Linked DNA regions of Homo sapiens: regions 1, 3 and 4 are each linked to region 2. Evidence: promoter capture Hi-C in 16 types of primary human blood cells and fetal thymus (Javierre and others, 2016). All regions are on one chromosome and are shown on one strand. The core of a region is centred on a gene start or on the middle of the fragment in contact, and the rest is flanking DNA. Distances in the headings are between cores, read along the strand shown. Region 1 overlaps PDE2A (phosphodiesterase 2A). Region 2 holds the start of PHOX2A (paired like homeobox 2A). Region 3 has its middle 16 kb from the start of LINC01537. Region 4 overlaps RNF121 (ring finger protein 121).

Region 1 (3,068 bases), core at 104-2,603, 410 kb before region 2:
GGTTGCCAGCACGTGGGCTTGGGCAGGTTCCTTTATCACCAGAAGCTTTGCCGTCTCCTCCACTATAAAGTGGGCACAATAACATCCACCTGCATGCATATTATAAGGATTGAGTGGGTTAAAATGTGCAAAGCAAGACTTTGTGCTCAGCTGGGCACAGCGGCTCACACCTGTAATCCCAGTACTTTGGGAGGCTGAGACAGAGTGCTTCAGCCCAGTAGTTTTGAGACCAGCCTGGGAAACATAGGGAGACCCTGTCTCTTAAAAGAAAAAAAAAATTAGAAGACTCGGTGCTGACTCTGCTAGACCAAAAGCCCACAAAGGCAGGGATTAGGTTTGGTTTGTGTTGTTCATTGTTGTATCTCAAGCTTCATTCATAGGACTGCACAAAGTAGGTGTTCAGTAAATGCTTTGTTGTGTGACTGCGTGTTAATTTTGTTCCCATTCTCCTGCTCCAAAAAAAAGTTCATTTTCCTGAGGTTGTGAGTGAAGAAAATAGGCAGTGTGGGCTGGGTGTGGTGTCTCATGCCTGTAATCCCCAGCACTTTGGGAAGCTGAGGCGGGAGGATCACTTGAGGCCAGGAGTTCAAGACCAGCCTGGGTAACTTAGCGAGATCCCATCTCTACTTCAAAAAAATTTAAAACAGAAAAAATCTAGGGTGTGTGGGGGGGCAGGTGGGGAGGTTGCAGGGGTGCCTCACAGGTGGGAGTCTGGCATTTCTCCTCCAGGCTGAGGAGGTGGTGACTTCCAGGGAAAGTCCTGGGAGGGATCAGAACCACAGCTCCAGCCTGCTTGGATGAGGGTGGTCTTCTGGCTGCCAGGAGGGTAGCTAGGTGGGAAGATCTGCCCTTGTTTCCTCCATAACCTGGGGTGGGAGGAGGAGGAGCTCCCAGCCCAATCTGATGGGGGAGACCAGAACCCTCACCCACCATTGCTGGCAGTTCAGAGAAGGCAGCGATAAGTCGGGGTGGGGCATCCTGAAAGGCTTCCCAGAGGATTGGATGGGAGGATTAGCTGAGAAGACATCCGGCATCCGTAAAATGGAGTAATGATTCTGACCCTGCAGGTTTTCTGGGAGGATTAAATGAGTTACATTTTAAAGATGCCTGGTACATGCCTGCCAGGAGAAGGCACAACATATGAACTCCCTCCCTCTTCCCTCCACCCCTCCTCAGCTCCTGTGACATCAGGAGGGACATGCCCTGCCCTGCTCACAGAGGCTGGGTGGGAGGCTCCCATCATGGCCTTCACTGAGGCTGCCTCTGCAGTTGGACCAAGCTGGACACACAGTAGGTGCACATAACAGATGGGGGCAGGTCTGTGCTTGTTTTACCAGGGTGTTGGGAGGCTGAGGGAAGGGCACAGCTGGATTGGGGTGATGGAGTTCAATCCCTGCTCCTCCCCCAGATCCAAGATCCTAAGACGCCTATGTCCAGTGGCTGCTCTGATCAGCTCTGACCAGCTCTCCTCACACCTCATAGGCCTTCCAGGGTTCAGGTGATGAATTAGTGATGACAGCATCCAGCATCGCTATGACAACCACATGGCACTCTTAGCCTCCAGTCAGGGCTCAGCCGCAGAGGCCAGAGACCCCTTTGGCTCTGGGCCTTTGTACTGGCGTGTGTGAGCGGGGCTGGGGCCTGAGGGAGATGGAGGAGTGGGAGGGGCAGGGGCCGGGGCATGGGGCTGCATCTGGCATGGACTGGAGTTCATTCAGATTGTTCCATCCAGAGGGACCTTGGGGACAGTTGTTTCTCTCCTTCCTTCCCCCTTTCTTTTCATTCCTCCATCCCTCCTCTTTCCCCTCCTCCCACTTCTTCTGAGCCTTGTTCCTGTTTGAGGCCCTGGGCTGCCAACCCTTTTCCCCTCCTCTGGGAATAAAGCCAGGCTCAGCCCTCACCCCGGGGAGCTGAGTGAGGTGGGGGACAGCCACCTTCTGGTCTAGGCCTCAGGGAAGGTGTGTGGGGACCACTGATGGCTTGGTGAGAGGGCCTGACCCAGCTGGGCCAGGGGCTGTGCAAGTGGCTGCTGACCCTGATGAGTGGGGAGGAGGTTTTCAGTAGAGAGGCAGGGTCAGAGATGAAGCAGCGTGGGATGGGGGAGCGACAGATGTTCAGAGTGGCCTAAGTGTGAGATGCGGAGCAGAGAACGTGGGAGGAATCGAGGCTCGAGAAGGACTGGGAGAGAGTGGATGCAGTGAGGAGTTTGAAGTTTGTCCCTGGGGGAAGAGGAGCCCTGAAGATTTTTGTTGTTGCTTCTTTGATTTTTAAATGGGAGGGTTCATTTTAGAGATGGGGAAACAGGCCCAGGGTGGGAAAGTGACTTGCTCAAGCTTAAGTCACTAGAGACAGACTGAGAGTACAGGCTCTGCTTGGGTCCTGCTGGACTCTAGCTGGGACCTCTTGCCCCAGACTTGCTGGCCAGGATTTTCCCAGGTAATCACTACCTCCGAGAAAGGCGAGGAGAGCCCATGGGTGACTTTGCCCTCAGTTTGAATGAAATTTGCATCAGCAAGGGCTATGCCGATAGTCCTTTCTGCTCGTGTCTGGCCTGTTTGGGGGTGGGAGTGGGGTGGAGGTGAGCATCCAGGGAAGGATCTGGGAAGTCAGGGGCTTGCCAGGGCCAGCAAGGCATTAGGGTCAGAGATGGATTCAAACTTGGGTCTTTGGAGACCCAGCCCAGACTCTGTGCTCCATCTCCTTCCTCCGTCTCTCAGGAGCCTTTGGCTGAGTTAGGCACCTACAGGAGGCAAGGGCCCCCCCGAGCCCCTCACATTCTCCTCAGGGCTCCTTCTGGCCCTGGGGCCTGATATTGGGCCTGCTGTGCTGGAACTTATCCAGGCAGAATAAACCTTTAGCCCCATTGTCCTGATGAAGAAACTGAGGTCCCGAGGTAACAGTGACTCATTCAGGGTTACAACAGGTCAGTGGCTGGGCTGGGCCTAGCGTCTGGCCCTCAGCTTGTCTACATGGCCCCCCTCGTGGCTCTCCCCTCGCCTCTCGCACCCCACTGTGCAGCATGGTTGGGCCTGCCAGCCTTGATGGATGGCTCTGCAGCTCAACCTCCC
Region 2 (3,037 bases), core at 151-2,650:
GGATTCTGAATGTGTCCCGCTGTCCCACAGCACGAGGGAGCTGGTGACTGAATCTGTGCAGGGATGTCTGGGCCAGGTGCAGACTGAGTCTAGGTGGTTTCCCTGGAGAAAAAAAGCGGGGGGCCCTGGAGAACAGGGGTAAGAGACTGAAGAACAATAAAGAGGTCACGGGGTACGTTCCCTTTCTGACATCCATCGCATCCTGAGCCCAAGGTCACAGGAGAGGGTCGCATACTGCAGATGGAGCTGAGGGAACGGGGGGAGAGGCAGGCGGGCCCTGAAGGTGCAAGGTCGTGTGGGCCTCGGGACAAGTCAGGGTAGAGGGACCTGGCTCCCACGACCCTCCCTCTCCGCAGCCCCGTGGAGGCCGCACCCCAGAGCCTCCAGCATCATCCCTGGGCCCCTCTGCGCTCCAGCCCTCGTGTCTAAGCTCCCCGGAGGCGTTTTCTCTCCGCTCTCAGCCTCTGCTCCCGCGCTTGTGGCTGTCCCTGGCCCTGTCTCTCTCAGACTGTCCCTGGGCATATGTGTCTGTCTCACGATTCCTGCCTCTGTTTTGTCTCATCCCTCCCTTGCTCTCCACCGCAGTCCTGGTTGCCGTCCATGTCTCATCCCGACCCCTTCTGTCTCCATGCCTCCCTCACTCTCTTTCTCGTCCCCCTGTCTCCCTGTCTCCTCTTGTCTCTCTCTTAACCTCATCTCCTGTCTCTGCCCTGTCCCCGCTCCATCCTGTCTCTCTCTTACCCTCATCTCCTGTCTCTGCCCTGTCCCCGCTCCATCCTGTCTTTCGCTGTGTATGTTCCGTCCTTGTCTCCCTCTGTGTACCTGTATCTCTTGTCCCTGTCTCCATCACTGTTTCTGCCCCTTTCTCTCCCGGTCTCTGTTTCCTCTGTCTATCCACGTCCCTTCCCTGTCCCCATCCCAGGCTCCGTCTCTTCCCGGTCTCCATCCCCCTTCCTGGGCCGCCTCCGCAGTCTCCGCCGGGATGGGACCTCGCTGGGGGCGGGGCTGAGGGGCCAGATCGGAATAACTCGGTTATCAGAGCGAATTGAATTAACTTCTTCACACGAGCGCCGCCAGGCCTGCCTCCCCTCCCTTCCGCGGGGCCGCAGGTGGGGAGGCCCGGGAAAAGGGTCGGGACCCTCTGGCCTCGGACGCTGTGTAGAGACCGAAGGTCTGGTCCGGATTGGGGCAGGATAGGGACTCCGGGGATAGGGTCCCGCGCATCCCAGCTCCACACCTCTGAGCCCTAAGACGGCGGCGGGGACCCTTCGGGGTGGGGGTCGGGGCGGCTTTGGGCGGTGTCTGGGCCTCCTAGGCCCCGCCCCTTCGGAGCTCGCCCCGCCCCGCCCCCCTCCGCGGGGTCCTGCGCGTTAAAAGGCGCGCGGGCCGGGCTGGCTGCACTTGCGTTGCACCCGGGCTGAGTGCGGCCGCGACGGGGCGGGCGGACTCTCGGGCGCTCAGAGCTGGCCTCGGGTCCTCGGAGCCTGGCGCTCGAACCTCCCTTCCGACCTCCACCCGGACCCCGACCCCGACCCGGCCTGGCCCGGCCCCCGCCCCCGCCCCCCGGGCCGATGGACTACTCCTACCTCAATTCGTACGACTCGTGCGTGGCGGCCATGGAGGCGTCCGCCTACGGCGACTTTGGCGCCTGCAGCCAGCCCGGCGGCTTCCAATACAGCCCCCTGCGGCCCGCTTTCCCCGCGGCAGGGCCGCCCTGCCCCGCGCTCGGCTCCTCCAACTGCGCACTTGGCGCCCTACGCGACCACCAGCCCGCGCCCTACTCGGCAGGTGAGCGCAGCCCCGGCCCAACCCTCCCTCCAATTCCTGCAGAATCCCTGGGCCCGCTCGCCAAGTGAATGCGACTGTCCCCCTCAGCCGCCCCCATTCCTGCCTTGGCCAGACCCTCCAATGCCCCGAGAGACCCCCAGAATACGAGGTTCTCCTCCGCAGGAATGAGCCTCACCCTCTCATCTCTCCTGTTCCTTTTTCTCGTTGCCAAATCTCTGTCTCGTGCCCTTCAGGTCAAGGAAATATATCCCCATCCAGCTCTGGGCCCCTTACCAGGCCTTCCCCTCACCACCTGCAAAGACTGACCACTAAACCTCTACAAGCGCTGGATCTTTGAAAAAGGCTCCCAGCCCAGCCCTATCACCACTTATCACCCCACCCCATCACCGCTGCCCCACGAGATGCATGACCCCCAGCAAGGACCTCTCCAGGCAGCTGAGCTGCCCAGACGGGAAGCTTCCTAGAGCTCGCGTGGCCATCAGGCCCCTCCTGCCCTGTCTTGGACCCACGCTGCCTGGGACCGAACCCTTCTGTAGCCACCAAAACCAGATCCCGTAGCCCGCAATAAAGGGGCCCGGGTTTTTAAGCCACTTGTATTTCCCCATTCCCCCAGACTCTCCCAGCTAGAGTTCTGTAGAACCCGGAAGCAGCTCCTGCATCCCCAAGACTTTAGATCCAAGTCCCTGTCCAAACCCTCAACCTCACTGAGCTTCTCAGTCATCTCAGCCCTCTGATTAGAGTCCCAGCCTGCCCTATGTAATCTTATCGCCTTCCCTCCTGGGAAGACTGCCGGGGACCCAAGTAGAAGACTGGGGCCTAAGGGCCAGGCGCGGTGGCTCATGCCTGTAATCCCAGCACTTTGGGAGGCCAAGGCGGGTGGATCACTTGAGGTCAAGAGTTCAAGACCAGCCTAACCAACATGGTGAAACCCCATCTCCATTAAAAATACAAAAAAAAAAAAAAATTAGCTGGGCATGGTGGCCCACGCCTGTAATCCCAGCTACTTGGGAGTCTGAGGCAGGAGAATCGCTTGAACCTGGGAGGCAGAGGTTGCAGTGAGCTGAGACTGTGCCATTGCATTCCAGCCTGGGTGACAGAATGAGACTCGGTCTCAAAAAAAAAAGAAGAAGAAGAAGAAGAAGACTGGGCCCTAGGCTGGGGTTTGGGGAAGAGATACGAGAAATGAGAACCTGGATTTGGAGAAATGAGGCCCAGGGTGGGGAGATTGGGTACCCTGAGCCAGATGAGG
Region 3 (3,101 bases), core at 201-2,700, 310 kb before region 2:
TGTGGGATGTGCTTCCCATGGACCCTCTTGACGGCTGGCAGCTGCCCGCCAAGGGGAAGCATCTAGACAGTAGAATGCAGTGGTTCAGGGCATGATCTCTAGCATCAGGCAGAACTGCTTCAAGTCCCTGCTCTGCCATTTCCTTGCTGCATGGCTTTGTGTAAGGCTGTTAACTTTCCCAAGTCTCAGCTTCCTCATCTATAAAATGGGAATAATGATAAACATTCTTTTTTTCTTTTTTTTTTGAGACGGAGTCTTGCTCTGTCGTCCAGGCTGGAGTACAGTGGCATGATCTCGGCTCACTGCAGCCTCCGCCTCCCGGGTTCAAGCAATTCTCCTGCCTCAGCCTCCCAAGTAGCTGGGACTATAGGCGCACGCTGCCATGCGTGGCTATTTTTTTGTATTTTTAGTAGAGACAGGGTTTCACTATGTTGGCCAGGCAGGTCTCAAACTCCTGACCTCATGATTCGCCCGCCTCGGCCTCCCAAAGTGCTGGGATTACAGGCATGAGCCACCGCCCCGGCCACAAACCTTAAGAGATAAACAAATGACCAGCAAACTTCTGAAAAAATGCTCAACATCACTAATGATCAGGGAAATGCAAATCAAAATTACGATGTGATACAATCTTATTCCTGCAAAAATGACCGTGATAAAAAAAATCAAAAAATTATAGATGTTGGCGTGGATGTGGTGAAAAGGGAACACTTTTACATTGTTGGTGGGAATGTAAATTAGTAAAACCATTGTGGAAAACAGTGTGGAGATTCCTTGAAGAACTCAAAGTAGAACTACCATTTGATCCAGCAATCCCACTCCTGGGGTATCTGCCCAGAGGACAAGAAGTCATTATACAAAAAAGATATTTGTATGCGCATGTTTATAGCAGTACAGTTTGCAATTGCAAAAATATGGAACCAGCCCTAATGCTCATCAATCAATGAGTGGATGAAGAAATTGTGGTATGTATGTATATATAGGAATGAAATATATAGGTATGTGTGTATGTATGCATGTATAGGAATGAAGTAATGGCATTTGCAGCAATCTGGATGGAATTGGAGACCATTATTCTAAGTGAAGTAACTCAGGAATGGAAAACCAAACATCGTATGTTCTCATTTGTAAGTGGGAGCTAAGCTATGAGGATGCAAAGGCATAAGAATGATACAATGGGCTTTGGGGACTTGGGGGAAAGGGTGGGAGGGGGTTGAGGGATAAAAGACTACACATTGGATACAGCGTACACTGCTCAGGTGATGGGTGCACCAAACTCTCAGAAATTACCACTAAAGAACTTATTCATGTAACCAAACACCACCTGTTCTCCTAGTGACATTTTAAAACCTAGTGACATTTTTAAAAAATAATAAACCTTGTTAAGGCTGCTGTGAGGATATTTAAGGCATGAGAGGTTTCAGCCACTGTTAAAGCTGCAGCTCTCTGAAGTGCAGGGCTCCATGAAGGTGCATTTCTGGGAAGGAGGGAGCTCATTCCTCATTTTGTCTTCAGACAAAGACAGAGGGGCCAGAAGGGACTCCCAGGAAGAGGGCTTTAGCTTCAGACACAGAAGAGCAGAAGAGACTTGGGTTCAAAACAGACAACTATAGCACTCCAGGTTGGTAGCTGTTGTGGGTTGAACTACGTCCTCCAGTCTCTAGATCTGTGCAAGTCCTCACCTCCACTATCAATGAGTGTGAAATAGGGTGTTTTTTTGAAGGTGTGATCAAGTTAAGATGGATCATATTGTGGTGAGCTGTAATCCAGCATCTGGTGTAAGAAGACTTATGAGAAGAGGGAAATAACACAGACGCACAGGAAGAAGCCCATATGAAGACGGAGGCAGAGACTGCAGTTGTGCTACCACAAACCAAGGAACCGAAGCTAGCAATCTCCAGAGGCTGGAAGAGGCAAGGAGAGATCCCTAGAACCTTCAGAGAGAACACGGCCGACACCACTGTGATTTCAGCCGTTCAGCCTCCAGAACTGTGAGACCATACATTTCTGTTGTTTGAAGTCACCCGTTTGTGACCGTTAGTTCCAGCAGCCCTAGGAAACCAACACGGTGAGTGGGTCAGGGAGGGACCCCTCAGGTCACAGGACATAGATAGATGGGAGGGAGGAGGAGACTTAGCTGATGACCATCATTTTCCAGCTTGGCATCTTGGGTCCAGCTGGCAGGATAGCCCAATCCCCGAAGACCATCTGGGATGCACACACAAGAAGCTGGCCCCCTTGACTCAAGGGGGCGCAACTGCTCCATGCCATCTATGATTTATGCTCCAGACCCTCCTTCCCCAATCAGGCCATGGCTGCCTCCACCTTAGACCACATCCTTCTGCAGCTCTTTCACGTTTCCTGGCCTGCTTGCCTAATTCCCTGACAGGTTGTTTCTACAAGCACTCCCATCCATCAGCCATGTGGTCATCTGTCCCTCACAGAATGCTCATTACACACTTCCCCAGCCCCAGCCCTGGGCTCACTGCTGGGGTAGAGGGGAGAGAGCATTAAGGCAGGGGTCCTGCCCTGAGGGAGCTCACAATAACCGGAATGAAATGTTAATGGATTAATTCAACACATGTTTATTGAAAACATATTATGCGCTGTTCCTGACCAGGGATTGGAAAGGCTGCAGAGGTAAACAAAACCAGACAGCAAGCACACAGACTAGCCGAGAAACAGACACTAATCAAATAAAACCAAAGCAAAAATAAAACTGCAACTGGGCCATTAAGGAAAAGTAGGTGATGCCACAAGAGTCTACATGAGGGGATTTGACCTAATTATGGTGGTCAGAGGGGTCACAGTAGACGGAGAGATGCCTGGGCTAACACCTGAGGTATAAGAGGCAAAGAGGGGAAGAAACAGTTTGTGCAAAGGTCTGGAGGCAGGATGAGGCCCAACAAGAAGGAAGAACTTAAAGAAGCTTTACTAATTTATTATAAAGGATACAACTCAGGAATAGCTGAGTGGAAGAAATGCGCAGGGTAAGGTATGTAGGCAGAGGAATGGAGCTTCCATGGTTGGGGTGGCTGTAGAGTGTGAAAGAGAGAGGATTGTTGGTAAGATGAGGCAAGGGAGGCAGGCAGAGGCCAGGCTGC
Region 4 (3,000 bases), core at 337-2,836, 280 kb after region 2:
CAGCCTGACCAACATGGTGAAACTCTGTCTCTACTAAAAAATACAAAAATTAGCCGGGCATGGTGGCAGACACCCATAATCCCAGCTACTTGGGAGGCTGAGGCAGGAGAATCACTTGAACCCAAGAGGCGGAGGTTGCAGTGAGCCGAGATCGCGCCACTGCATTCCAGCCTGGGCAACACAGCAAGAGCCTGACTCAAAAAAAAAAAAAAAGAAAGAAAGAAAAAAGAAAAATCCTAGGAGGATGTACCAAAATCTTCTCTTGGCATATATCTAGGAATTAAACTCCCAGATCATAGGGAGTTTAATTTAAAAACAGTTTGAAACTGTTTTTCAAAGTTGTTTCTCCACAAAGGAAACAATATAACTGAGCACAGCCCCAGCGTGGGACTAGAAAGGATCAACGAATATCTACTGACTGAACAAATAAATAGACAGTACTCAATAAATGCTAGCTAGTGTTATTAATTATGTCTACGTAATTACATAGGTGGTAATGTCCCAACTATATTTATGCTCTGCTTCTCCTCTCTAGAACTGACCTTTAACCTACAGCAGATTTGAGAATGAGAGGTCCACAAGAATTGTAAAATTGGTAGCTATGGCTATTACCTAAAATATGCCTAGGCAGGCAGAAGAACTTTATAAGAACCAGGATAGAAAATCAGGAACAGCAAGATGGGCCATCCAAACAGAATAGCAAACAATAGAGTACTTAGCCAACAAGATCGTTCATAAATTGGGCTGGGGGCAGTGGCTCACACCTGTCATCCCAGCACTTTGCGAGGCCGAGGCAGTTTGATCACTTGAAGTCCAGAGTTCGAGATCAGCCTGGCCAACATGGTGAAACCCCTTCTCTACTAAAATACAAAGAGTTAGCTAGGCATGGTGGCAGGAGCCTGTAATCCCAGCTACTTGGGAGGCTGAGGCAGGAGAATCGCTTGAACCGGGGGCAGAGGTTGCAGTGAGCCGAGAGCATGCCACTGCACTCCAAACTGGGCGACAGAGCAGGACTTCATCTTAAAAAAAAAAAGATCGTTCATAAATCTAATCTATAAAAATTTTTCTACCAATTCTACAAATAAAATCAAATGACAAACTGGGGAAAGATATCCGTAGCAAATTATGTCAGAAGGCTTATTCCTGACCTACAAAGAGCTCTTACAAATCAGTAAGAAACATTCCAAAAGAAACCTGAGCAAAGGAAAGAAAATGTACCAAATATATCATATGGCTCAAGCTGTGAATAATACATCTTGTGAATAATACTTACATATAATACTTAATAATGTAAACAATGAATATTTATTTAAAAATTGGGAGGAGGAAATGTTTGTAGTATGTAACGGGTATAGGTATAGCAGTAAAAGATAATTATTACCGCCAGGCACAGTGGCTCATGTCTGTAATCCCAACACTTTGGGAGGCCAAGGTGGGCAGATCACGAGGTCAGGAGATCGAGACTATCCTGGCCAACATGGTGAAACCACGTACTAAAAATACAAAAATACATTTGTACTAAATACAAAATACTAAATACTATTGTATTTTGTACTAAAATACATTTGTACTAAAAATACAAAAATTAGCTGGGTGTGGTGGCATGAACCTGTAGTCCCAGCTACTTGGGAGGCTGAGGCAGAAGAATCGCTTGAACCCAGAAGGCAGAGATTGCAGTGAGCCGAGACCATGCCATTGCACTCCAGCCTGGGTGACAGAGTGAGACTCCGTCTCAAAAAAAAAAAAAAAAAACAAAAAAAACCCACATAATTATTACCTTCCAAAGTAGGAAGTCAATATATAATATTTAAAAGTAGAAATTTATACATCAGTATAAACATGTTATTTAAAAAACATAAATATTATATTTAAATATAATAAAGTAGAAATTTATATCAGTATAAACATGTTATTTAAAAAACACAAATATTGGCCGGGCGCGGTGGCTCACGCCTGTAATCCCAGCACTTTGGGAGGCCGAGGCGGGTGGATCATGAGGTCAGGAGATCGAGACCATCCTGGCTAACAAGGTGAAACCCCGTCTCTACTAAAAATACAAAAAATTAGCCGGGCGCGGTGGCGGGTGCCTGTAGTCCCAGCTACTCGGGAGGCTGAGGCAGGAGAATGGCGTGAACCCGGGAAGCGGAGCTTGCAGTGAGCCGAGATTGCGCCTCTGCAGTCCGCAGTCCGGCCTGGGTGACAGAGTGAGATTCCGTCTCAAAAAAAAAAAACAAAAAACCCACAAATATTATATTTAAATATAATAAAGTAGAAATTTATACATCAGTATAAACATGTTATTTAAAAAACGCAAGGCCAATTGTGGTGGCTCATGCTATAATCCCAACACTTTGGGAAGCTAAGGCAAGAGGATCACTTAAGGCCAGGAATTCAAGACCAGCCTGGGCAATATAGTGAGAGCCAACTCTACAAAAAATTAAAATATATATATATTAGCCAAGCGTGGTGGTGTGTACCTGTAGTCCTAGCTACTTGGGAGGCTGAGGCAGGAGGATTGCCTGGGCCCAGGTGTTTGAGGCTGCAGTGAGCTATGATGGAGCTGCTGCCCTCCAGCCTGGGTGACAGACTGAGATCCTGTATCTTAAAAAAAAAAAGTATCAGAAATGAACTAAAAAAGTTATTAATAAAAGTAGTTGCCACAGAAGAATCAGCGACTGACAGAGTTGGGCAGGGGACCAATGTGTTTTGCTTCTGAAGTCTTGTAGAACTATCTGACTTTTAAAACTATGGTATGTATTACTTCGATAAAAATGGAAATATCAGGCCAGGCACGGCGGCTCACACTTGTAATCCCAGCATTTTGGGAGGCCAAGGTGAGCGGATCACCTGAGGTCAGGCATTCGAGACCAGCCTGACCAACGTGGAGAAACCCTGTCTCTACTAAAAATACAAAATTAGCTGGGCATGGTGGCGCACGCCTGTAATCCCAGCTACTCGGGATGCTGAGGCAGGAGAATCACTTGAACCTGGGAGGCAGAG

What was found. The method cuts DNA at HindIII sites, captures the fragments that hold promoters and counts their contacts. A CHiCAGO score of 5 or more calls a contact.
Region 1: a contact is called between a fragment that was not itself captured here and the fragment with the promoter of PHOX2A in region 2, in 3 of 17 cell types (endothelial precursors, M0 macrophages and M1 macrophages). The highest score is 6.8, in endothelial precursors.
Region 3: a contact is called between a fragment that was not itself captured here and the fragment with the promoter of PHOX2A in region 2, in 1 of 17 cell types (M1 macrophages). The highest score is 5.9, in M1 macrophages.
Region 4: a fragment that was not itself captured here is called in contact with the fragment with the promoter of PHOX2A in region 2 in 2 of 17 cell types (megakaryocytes and naive CD4 T cells); the score reaches 5.6 in megakaryocytes.

Annotation. Positions count from the first base shown.
Region 1 is chr11:72,656,073-72,659,140 of GRCh38, reverse strand. All of the region lies in intron 1 of PDE2A (phosphodiesterase 2A), which reads left to right. Among named protein-coding and RNA genes, the nearest start is that of PDE2A-AS1, 3.2 kb to the left of the region's middle. RefSeq lists an enhancer at 1,983-2,484. The HindIII fragment of the contact is 1,965 bases long and covers 371-2,335 here.
Region 2 is chr11:72,242,539-72,245,575 of GRCh38, reverse strand. It overlaps PHOX2A (paired like homeobox 2A), which reads left to right and starts at 1,400. Exons shown (of 3, transcript NM_005169.4): 1 at 1,400-1,788. The coding sequence starts at 1,572. The HindIII fragment of the contact is 4,541 bases long and covers 1-2,246 here.
Region 3 is chr11:72,553,091-72,556,191 of GRCh38, reverse strand. No RefSeq gene overlaps it. Among named protein-coding and RNA genes, the nearest start is that of LINC01537, 16 kb to the left of the region's middle. The HindIII fragment of the contact is 2,956 bases long and covers 1-2,928 here.
Region 4 is chr11:71,966,102-71,969,101 of GRCh38, reverse strand. All of the region lies in intron 3 of RNF121 (ring finger protein 121), which reads right to left. Among named protein-coding and RNA genes, the nearest start is that of IL18BP, 31 kb to the left of the region's middle. The HindIII fragment of the contact is 3,735 bases long and covers 1-3,000 here.